3 separate regions of the Homo sapiens genome follow, and regions 2 and 3 are each linked to region 1. Evidence: promoter capture Hi-C in human tissues and cell types (Jung and others, 2019). All regions are on one chromosome and are shown on one strand. Each heading gives the region's core, a stretch centred on a gene start or on the middle of the fragment in contact. The rest is flanking DNA. Distances are from core to core; before and after follow the strand shown.

What was found. The method cuts DNA at HindIII sites, captures the fragments that hold promoters and counts their contacts. A contact is called where the count stands out against the background at its distance.
Region 2: a fragment that was not itself captured here is called in contact with the fragment with the promoter of ITFG2 in region 1 in 1 of the 25 tissues and cell types used here (stomach).
Region 3: a fragment that was not itself captured here is called in contact with the fragment with the promoter of ITFG2 in region 1 in 1 of the 25 tissues and cell types used here (hippocampus).

Annotation. Positions count from the first base shown.
Region 1 is chr12:2,810,463-2,813,917 of GRCh38, reverse strand. It overlaps ITFG2 (integrin alpha FG-GAP repeat containing 2), which reads right to left and starts at 1,250. Exons shown (of 12, transcript NM_018463.4): 1 at 1,062-1,250. The coding sequence starts at 1,157. It overlaps ITFG2-AS1 (ITFG2 antisense RNA 1), which reads left to right and starts at 994. Exons shown (of 4, transcript NR_146317.1): 1 at 994-1,356. RefSeq lists enhancers at 974-1,223, 954-1,703 and a silencer at 1,334-1,423. The HindIII fragment of the contact is 16,489 bases long and covers 1-3,455 here.
Region 2 is chr12:2,030,466-2,033,894 of GRCh38, reverse strand. It overlaps a transcript of CACNA1C not described here. Among named protein-coding and RNA genes, the nearest start is that of CACNA1C-IT1, 16 kb to the right of the region's middle. The HindIII fragment of the contact is 5,670 bases long and covers 1-3,429 here.
Region 3 is chr12:2,005,597-2,008,832 of GRCh38, reverse strand. It overlaps a transcript of CACNA1C not described here. Among named protein-coding and RNA genes, the nearest start is that of DCP1B, 2.8 kb to the right of the region's middle. The HindIII fragment of the contact is 3,124 bases long and covers 164-3,236 here.

The DNA.
Region 1 (3,455 bases), core at 1-2,500:
CATAAAATTGGACTGCTTGGCAGTTCATGAAGAAACACGAAAGCCCAGAAAACATAACACAAATTTATGAGAATAACTCTTTCCTCCCCAGAGAGGGTAGAGCCAAAAAAGGCCTCATAAGATACCTTCTGCATCACAGCACTAGGGGGCGGTGGGAAATAAGTACAGGACAGTTAAGGAACTGTGAAGCAGGGAGGCCGAGTAGGAAGATAGGGCAGAGGGTAGAAGGGGGCAATACAGTGCTTTGCATTAGAACTATGAAATAGATGATAAATGAAAAGATAAAGTCTGCAAAAAAAAGAGCATCAGACACTATTCCCTTTAATGCTCCACCGGAGAATCCTCTCCATACTTTAGTCAATGCATCTCATTACATTTTATTATCCGGTGACTATTACACAGCTTGATTATGAGCTATCTGAGGACTGGAACTCTCTCGTTCATTTTTGAATTCCTAGAATGTAGCAGAGTCCTTGGTGCATAATGAGCAGTTCAGTAAAGATTTGCAGAAAAACAGAATAAAATACTAACACCACCACCACCACCACTAACACTTAAGTGAGCACTAAACTGTGTGCCAGGCATTGTTTTACCTGCTTGACCTGTGGTAATTTATTTAAAAAACGAGAAGGGCTGGGCACGATGGCTCAGGCCTGTAGTCCCAGCACTTTGGGCCAACATGGTGAAACCCCACCTCTACTAAAAACACAAAAATTAGTCGGGCGTGGTGGCGGGCGCCTGTAATCCCAGCCCCTTGGGAGGCTGAGGTAGGAGAATCGCTCGAGCCCGGGAGGCAGAGGTTGCGGTGAGCCGAAATCAAGCCACTGCACTCCAGCCTGGGTGACAGACGGAGCCTGTCTCAAAAAACAAACAAAACCTCCCAAGGAACAAAACCAACCACGAACACTGAAGCTATCAATAAAGTTTTTCTCTCTAGCGCTCCAAACTAGCCACAGCGCGCATGCTCACGCTCACGTGGCACGCTCGGGCGGCCTCTTCCACTTCCCTTGCCCCGTCCCTGCACAGATCCAGGCTGTCTCTTGCGGTGCGCATGCACCTACCGTATCGTTATCAACGTCTCCGAGGCAGATTGCGTGCGGGAAGAGGCTCCCGCTGAACTCCAGCGCCACGCGCTGCACGTAGCTAACTGACCTCATGGCACCTCCAAGAGCAGAGGGAGCGGAGAGGCCCAGTAAATATTCCCTGAACCCCCGTCGCGACAGCCGCCAGAGCGGAAGGCCACCTAAGGCAGCAAGTTACGTCACTGCCTGAACCTCCAATCTCTGCCTCTTCCTCCTTTAACCTTACAGAGGAGGCGGGTCTTCCGGGCTTGGAGGCGGGCTTCCCAACTCTGATGTGAGTGACAGGCCCACGGGCCACTCCTTTTCTCCACAGGGCTGCAGACCGTGGGTAAACCAACCCTGACGGGGGTCGATCTGTTCCCTTGGCAACAGGGCTCCCAAGGGCTTGACCTAATAACCTTGACCTTTTTCCTTTGTTTCCCTGGCAATGAAGATTCCTAGCCATCAGACCATTCCTGAGAATCTTACTAATCTTCGTAATAACTGATAATTGCATGGTTTTGAAAAGTGTTTTTAAAAAACTACCCATTAGGAGTGAAAACAATGTAGTGAGTTGCAATCAGCATATAAAAAATTAAATACAATAGTAATATACCAAGTGACTCCCAGGTAGTAAGGTAAGTACAGTTTTTGTGAAACTCTTGTTTCAATTGTATATACTTATATGTGTATACTGGCTTATAATGTAAAAAAAATTTTTTTTTTCAGTGTATGTGTTTTCTGGTCAATAGTTTAAAAGCCACCTGCTGCAAAGCACATTTCACATATTTCACATAATTAGTTCAGCCACTATGCGAGCTTTTTTTTTTTTTGGCTGAGGAAAACAGGTTCAGCAAGATTAAGTAAAATGGCAGAAGGAAGGATTGTGGGGCGGGGTGCGTGCTCAAACCAGAATTGTTTGATCCCAAACCCTAGGGCCTCTCCATCATTTACTATCATAGTTCGTAGGAGAGTCTTCAGGCTGGAAGTGAAGGTTGCCTGGATTCCGGATCTGCTCTGTCTTGTGGCCCCCCAGCACAAAGCTCTTGCATCTCAACCTCAGTAGCCTTACTCTTGTAGCACAGATGGGACTGTCACTCTCATGGCTGGCTTCTTGGGATACTTTCTTTCCATGTTGAATCCAGTTCTGCCTTTCTTTGGGGTGCCTCGTCAATCAGGGCAATATTTATGAAATCATACAGGTGTTCAATACATTTTTAGATTTAGGTCTAAAAACCCAGGCTGACTCGCACTTGGTGTTTCAAAAAAAAAAAAAAAATGATTCTACCTTATCTGGGATTTTGGACCAGGGGCTGTTCCTTTTTATCTTTTTTTTTTTTATTTTTATTTTTATTTTTTTTTGAGACAGAGTCTCGCTCTGTTGCCCAGGCTGTAGTGCAGTGGCGCAATCTCGGCTCACTGCAACCTCTGCCTCCCAGGTTCAAGCAGTTCTCCTGCCTCAGCCTCCCGAGTAGCTGAGACTACAGGCGAGCGCCACCACGCCCAGCTAATTTTTAATTTAATTTAATTTAATTTTTTTTTTTTTTGAGACGGAGTCTCGCTCTGTCACCCAGGCTGGAGTGCAGTGGTGCGATCTCGGCTCGCTGCAAGCTCCGCCTCCCGGGCTCAAGCCATTCTCCTGCCTCAGCCTCCGGAGTAGCTGGGACTACAAGCGCCCGCTACCACTCAAGGAGAATTTTTTGTATTTTTAGTAGAGACGGCGTTTCACCGTGTTAGCCAGGATGGTCTCGATCTCCTGACCTCGTGATCCACCCGCCTCGGCCTTCCAAAGTGCTGGGATTACAGGCATGAGCCACCGGCGCCCGGCCGCCCAGCTAATTTTTGTACTTTTAGTAGAGACGGGGTTTCACCATGTTGGCCAGAATGGTCTTGATCTCTTGACCTCTTGATCTGCCCGCCTCGGCCTCCCAAAGTGCTGGAATTACAGGCGTGAGCCACTGCGCCCGGCCCCTTTTTTCTTTTTCTTTCTTTTTTTTCTTTGAGAGTCTTGCTCTGGAGTGCAGTGGTGCGATCTGGGCTCATTGCAACCTCCGCCTCCCAGGCTCGAGATCTTGTGTCTCAGCCTCCCAGGTAGGTGGGATTACAAGCGTGAGCCACCATGCCCGGCTTGTCCCTACTTTCTATGTCTGTACATAGTGGGAGGAGGCTGGAGGGCAAGACCTTTTCTTGGGGGAAGGGGGTGGCAGATTTTTTCCTAGATGTCCCAGTGGATCTGACAGCCAGGTAAGAAAGAACAGCAGGTCAGAACAGTAAACTGGAGGAAGTCTGGACAAATACTGGAGACTGCAGATATATTCTGAAGCTGAACTGTGTTACAAGTTCATATTTCTGGTTGTGTACTGTGGGATGGCCAGGTCCATTAAAAGGCACTGG
Region 2 (3,429 bases), core at 799-3,298, 780 kb after region 1:
AAGCTGTCTTCGAGGGCAGTATGGCCAGGGCCAGGCAAACTCTCACCACCTCTATTTGGAATGCTAGACATCTATTCACGGTGCCTACATTTACTTTAACTTTATTGGCAGCTGCATCTGCTGAGGTTCCTGGGCATTTTGACTATGTTATTCTCACTTCTCTAGAGGGATGTTTGCTGGAGATTTGACCTGGGGAATGATTTTAAATGAGAGCGAGCTGGGATGTTGTTGTTGTTTTGTTGTTGTTGTTGTGTTGTTGTTTTCTCATGTTTTAGCATGAGGTTGCCAGAAAAACTTTGTCCTTAGGATTATACTGTGAATCATGTCCAAAGCTCTGAACACAATGCCCCCAAGCCCCAAGGACTCTGAGACTCCAGGAGACATATAGCCCAGAGGAGTGGAGATGAAGCTCCATTTTTCAGGAAAGAAGGGACAGTCGGCCTTATGTGTTTTGAAGATGTAAACATAGCCTGGGTTTGGAGAGAAAATGGGATCCATGTCCTGGGTTCCAGGGTGTCGGATGCCAGAGCTGCCCCCTCAGCATCCCAGGATAGACTTGCAGGCCAGGTGGTGGCCGAGCACATGGGCGGACTTGAGCCTGCAGAGGGCGGGCATCATGGGGGCATCTGTGTCAGGGCCAGAAAGAGGACCCAGCTGGACACAGAGACTGGCTTCACTTGTTCTGGGACATCCTGTCCACACCTTCCTCAGGGTTCCTTGTACGTCAAGGAATGGAGAATCAAGCACCTCCCCTCTGGAAGTGGAATGGCCAGCGGAACTCCCCCAGGGTGGGTTAGCTACATCACTGCACCTAACCAGGCACTGCCTGTCAGTGTCATAGGCTCACCTGGCATTTTACTCCACCACCCCCTACCTTCAGTTTAAAACCCTTCTGATCAAACTGGGAAACATTAATTTTTCACAAAGAAGTCCCCTCGAAAGCAAGCACTGGAGGGATGTTTTATAGGGAGAGAGGTTCTCTTTCCTGACTTGTGTTATTATTTCCAGGACCAGCGCTTCAGCGTTGTTAAATCAGGACCTCGTTCTATAAATATTTCTGATTTGAAAAGCCGCATTCATGTTCTCTACTGCAAAATCTAAGCCCGAGATGGCAGCAGCATCTCAGGAATACGGAATATGAAGAAAACACAGCACAGTTGTTAGCTCCAGCTGCTGATGTTCTGAGCTGCCTGTCCATAATTCAGAGGACAAGACAAGGTCACTCATAAACACCACTGAACTGTGTCTCCTTTCACGGGTTCTGCATAAAAATATTGCAGCCCCAATGAACATCAAACAAGTGTAATGGATTGGTTTAATTCACATCCGAACACTCACAAACACAGTGGCCCTAATAACATTCCTGTTTCCAGTGGATTTCCATGCTTGTCAATTATTCTGAAACATCAACTGTCTTAACGTTGACAAACAAGATGCTAACTTGATTTTTTAACAATCCTTTTCAAGAGCAACAGAGTCCATTCTCTATGTGTGCCATCCACAGGCATGGGCTTGAGCCTCCTGGCCGGGTGTGCTAAGTGCCCCTAGGGTACACCCAAAATACGGCAGGTGACAGAGAAATTGATGTTCACTTTAGGGACTGTCCATGGCACTAAGGCTGATGTGAGTTATACTGATATAAGCACTCATATGACACCTAAAACTGGGAAGGAACTCAAGCAGAGATGGATGGGTGTTTGGGACCACAGGAACTCCTCCAAGTTGCTCCCTTAGAGCATGCCCGCCCCCTCCGGTTACCGAGACTGCCGCAAGCCGTGCTCCCACTCACGTGTGAGCCACCCCTCCTCCCTCTACCTTGCAGCATGGGGATGGGAGCTGTGGTTACACTGCTCTTACCCCTTCCAAACACATACACACAGACACACACACACACACACACAAACACACTCACACACACACTCACACAGAAAGAGCAACACATTTGTCTCCAGGGTGGGGAAATAATAAACAAAGGTGACTATTGCATACTCATGAAAAGACACAGCCCACAGCTGCCCTCTCTCTCCTGAGATCCTGCCACTGTTGCTCAGGAGGCCAGTATTCTCGGGGCATCTCAGGAGGATTGAGCAGGACTTGGAGAAAGCCAAAGAAAGCCACTGAGCCATCTACATTCAAAATGGTATCAAAGCATTCCTTACTGTATAGTAAAATCCAACCATGAATTTGATTTGGGATACAGCCTGGGCATCAGAATTTTAAAATCTCCCCAATAACTTTATTTTACATTCAGAACCTTTACTCTAAGGTAAGGGGTAGTAGGATAGGTAGAGAGATAGAGACCCAAGGAGACTGGCTTTCAAGCTTCATGTCCATAGAAAATAAGGATGGAAATAAAAAAGAAACTCATTATCCAATCCTCTTTTGTTCAAACAAAAGACATGGGACAAGGAATGCAGCAGAGGAGACAGGCACGCATTGTCTTCTGGAAGGTTGAGCCTGAAGAACACAGCACAGCCCCCCATTCACCGTGCTGCCACTTGTGTGCCAATGAATCTGGCCTCCCACTTAGTCCAAACTCACTTGGACACCAGAGGGTTTGGAGAAGAGAAGAGTGAACAAGCTCTTGAGTGCCACGAGTTTTGGTTTCTCCGTACTGAGACCACAATGCTGAGAAAGACAAAATCCAGGTTGGACCCCCAAGAGAGTGATTGGACCCTCCAATTCGGATGAGGAGGAGAGGGTCTGCCTGGTAGGCAAGAACCAAGGATGCCCATGGGCACTTAGGCAGCAAGTCTCTGGGTGCCTTTACTACAAAAGAACAAAATCTATTGTCAGCAACTCACATTAGGAAACCACTGAGAGGTCTAGGCTGCTGTCCATCCTTAATTATGGGTAAGTTGAACCTGTAGAGACCTGTCTTGCCTTCTAGCAGCACACACCTGTGAGTTCTTGCCTAACATAGGACAAAGGAGAAGGCAAAGATGTCAGGACAAAGCTTGCCTCTGTCTTATGAACTAAACTCATGGGTAATGTTCCCAACTTGTTGCTGGGTCTCCAGCTTCCACCTGCCTCACCTCAGGTGACTTTTGAGCCTTTCTGCCTCAACTAAGTTCCCTGAGCCCAAGCTCCCTGCTCCTTCAGGCCTGTGGAATGTGGCCTCATGCCTGCCTAACTTTACGGCCCAAGAGGATGCTGGCACCCAGTCCTGACCCCTTCCAGGCATCTCTGCCCTGCTGTGGCCTGTGCCCGGGCTCCAGAAAGATTAGCACAAATAACCCCATCAGCAAGGCAGACACAACTTCACACGCACCTAAGGAACTAGAACACAGGCCCCTGTGTGGACAAAATGCAGCCCCAAGGGCACATCTGAGAGCCGTGGAGCAGCCCACTGCAACATGTGAACCAAGGGGAAGGAAGATGCTACTTCCTCAGCACAGCCCAAATAAAGACAAACCAGGGATTTGGCTC
Region 3 (3,236 bases), core at 476-2,975, 810 kb after region 1:
GTGGGCCAGGGAGATGAACAATATGGCAATGCTGAAGTCATTGCAACATTATTTATCTTTTTTCTCTGAGTATGATTTCTAATCTTCAAGAGTTTTTTGTTTGAAAGTTAAAAAACCAAAAACCTTTCCATGTTTTTCTATCTCCCTTAGAATATAAAATCTGAGAGAACAGGACTTGCTATTGCACGTTTTTTTATCCCAACTTGGATTTCATTATTTTATAAATCATGAGCTCTTTAAAAAATGCTGACATTTAATGAGTAAATTCAACTAACTCAGGGTTTAGTTCAAAAGAATAAGCATTTATTGAATCTCTATTATGTACAAGGCATTGGACCAAGTGCTAGGGAGACTACGTGGTGATAAGCACATAAAAAATAACATCTCCATCCTGAGCAACGTAGTGAGACCCCATCACTACAAAACATAAAAAGTAACATCTCCATCCTGAGCAACATAGTGAGACCCCATCACTACAAAACATGAAAAATAACATCTCCATCCTGAGCAACGTAGTGAGACCCCATCACTACAAAATATAAAAAACATTGGCCGGGCATGGTGGCACCAGCCTGTGGTCCCAGCTACCTGGGAGGCTGGGGTGGGAGGAGTGCTTGAACCCAGGAGGTCAAGTCTGCAGTGAGCTGTGATTGTGCCACTGCACTCCAGCCTGAGCGACAGAGAAAGACCCTGTCTCAAAAAATAAATAAATAAATAAATAAATAAGTAAAACTTTATGAAACATACTATTTCCTCCTTTTTGCTTATCTGTCAAGAAACTCAAAGCCCAATTTCTTGTTCAATTGCAATAATGTTTTCAGGCTAGATTTTCTATAACAATTCTCTTTTATTACAATGACTGTTTTTTTTTAGAATTGGAAAAAAATGTATATGTAACGTAGTAAATAAATAAGTCTAAGTCAGGATAAAGTGAGCTAAGTGCCACAAGAAAAATCGCAACAGAATGCAATGAGGATTCATAGGCTGAAAGGATTGTATGGGAGAAGACAGGAGGTGAGTTTTCCAGGAAAAGGTCATTCCAAGCTAAGAAGACAGATGGGCAAAGGTACAGAGATAGGAATGTGTAAGATACTTGGGAGAAAAGAGTTCAGATACAAGGAGGTTAGAACAGAAGATGGGTTGTTTCATTAACTCTAAACACACAAAAAATTAACTCTTCTCTACTAAGGGTCATATTAGCATGTTGTTCACATATGTGAAATTTTCCCCGTAAGCAAAGTAAGGGTATCTTCATCTTACTCATCAGTGAGATCAAAGACTGGAGAAGACATGACCATGTAATTTCAGCACAGACACAAGAAGCAATAATAAATCATGAAGAATTAATGAATTTCATCAAGTGAGCACTCCATAAATGCTTTGCAATTGTAGTCATACAGATCACTAAGACTTGTATACACTTTTGTTTTATGAACATTTAAGCTTTTACAATGGCCCCTATATTGCCTGTCTTCTCTAATGAGCTCAAAGCAATTCGTTCTTTGGAGGCCATGATCTATTCTTTACACTTTAAAGATGGAAAGACTGAAAAATTATGAGGACAATGATCTGTGTAAGGATCATGGAACTTAACAGACAAAAGAAAAACAATGCCTCATTATATGTACGAGGGAAATGCAAAGTAGAATCTGTGGGTTCATGCTGAAAAATCAAAATTAGAACAGCTAATCAAGTGAGAGAGTGTGACTAGTTCAAGAATTAATCACAAAATTCTCCATTGCCCATATTACAGATTAAACTTGTTTTTAGAAGCACATATGTGATTAAGAGCAAAGAGGTCAGTAACACTGGAAAAAGGTAGTGAACTAACATGGAAAGTTGTCTAGTCAGCTTTGTGTGGTTGCTCAGTTGCTGCAGCCCTATGTTTTTCAAACTACAGGTCACAATCCATTAGTTGGTCATGAAACCAATTTACAAAGTCACAAATAGCATTTTAAAAAATGTCTGTATACTTAGTATTGAAACATTTATTCTAGTTAATATCAGGTATAAATATATAAACATATGTTCTCAGTCAGACTGCAAATGACCCCAGCCTCAGTCAAAAAAAAGTTGTTTGAAAGCCATTGCTGTATTCTTCCCCACTGGGAAGTTAGGCTTGGGAGTCAATAGGACTGAGACTCCAAAATGCAGCTTAACCAAGAATTTCAGTACAATTGAAATTGTGACTGCAAAGATTATATTGCAACATATTATTATGAGAGGGTATGTGTGCCGTATCTATGATATTTCTATATCAAATAGGTAAGAATTTATGAATGTGAGTAGTAATGTCTGCACAGTTGTTCTAATATTTAATGCTAGATAAATGGTTTAGATCAACCATTCTCAACTTTTTAGTCTCAAGACTCCTTTACACTCTTAAAAATTATTTTTTTAATTACTTTTTATTTATTTTATTTTTGAGATGGAGTCTCGCTCTATCACCCAGGCTGGAGTGCAGTGGCAGGATCTCGGCTCACTGCAACCTCTGCCTCCCGGGTTCAAGCGATTCTCCTGCCTCAGCCTCCCGAGTATCCGGGATTACAGGTACCTGCCACCACTCCTGGCTAATTTTTGTATTTTTAGTAGAGACGGGGTTTCACCATGTTGGCCAGGCTGGTCTTGAACTACTGACCTTGTGATCCGCCCGCCTCAGCCTCCCAAAGTGCTGGGATTACAGGCAGGAGCCACCGCACCTGGCCCACTCTTAAAAATTATTAAGGACTCCCTCAGAGAACTTTTGTTTATGTGAGTTATACCCACCTATATTTACCATATTGGAAATTAAAAATAACTTTAAAGACCCCGGGCTATGTGTGTTTTGTTTGGAGTATATGAAGAAACTCTGGCCTCATATGTAGATAATGTAGTTGGAAAAGAGATGGATATTTTAATAGAGTTTTTCAGACAATTGTGGATATTCTTCTTGGATAATATACCAAAACTTGACAAGCTGGAGTTTCTCAAAGCTTAGCTGCAATGTACTATCTGAAATCCTATTAACTTTTCATACTGTTACATTAAAAATCCATTAGTCCACCTTGTCCTTGAATGGATCTTTTGCCTGTGCATGATTATGTAGCATGAGACATTGGTCTTTTGGAAAATACTGGACCACTGAGTTAAGCAGATCTTTGAGATATTGACACTTTCCATTATACAAGATTTGTTAAAATTGCGCTCATTAATATCATCACTGATCTCATCAGAAAAAAAAACATTAAGTACTGAGA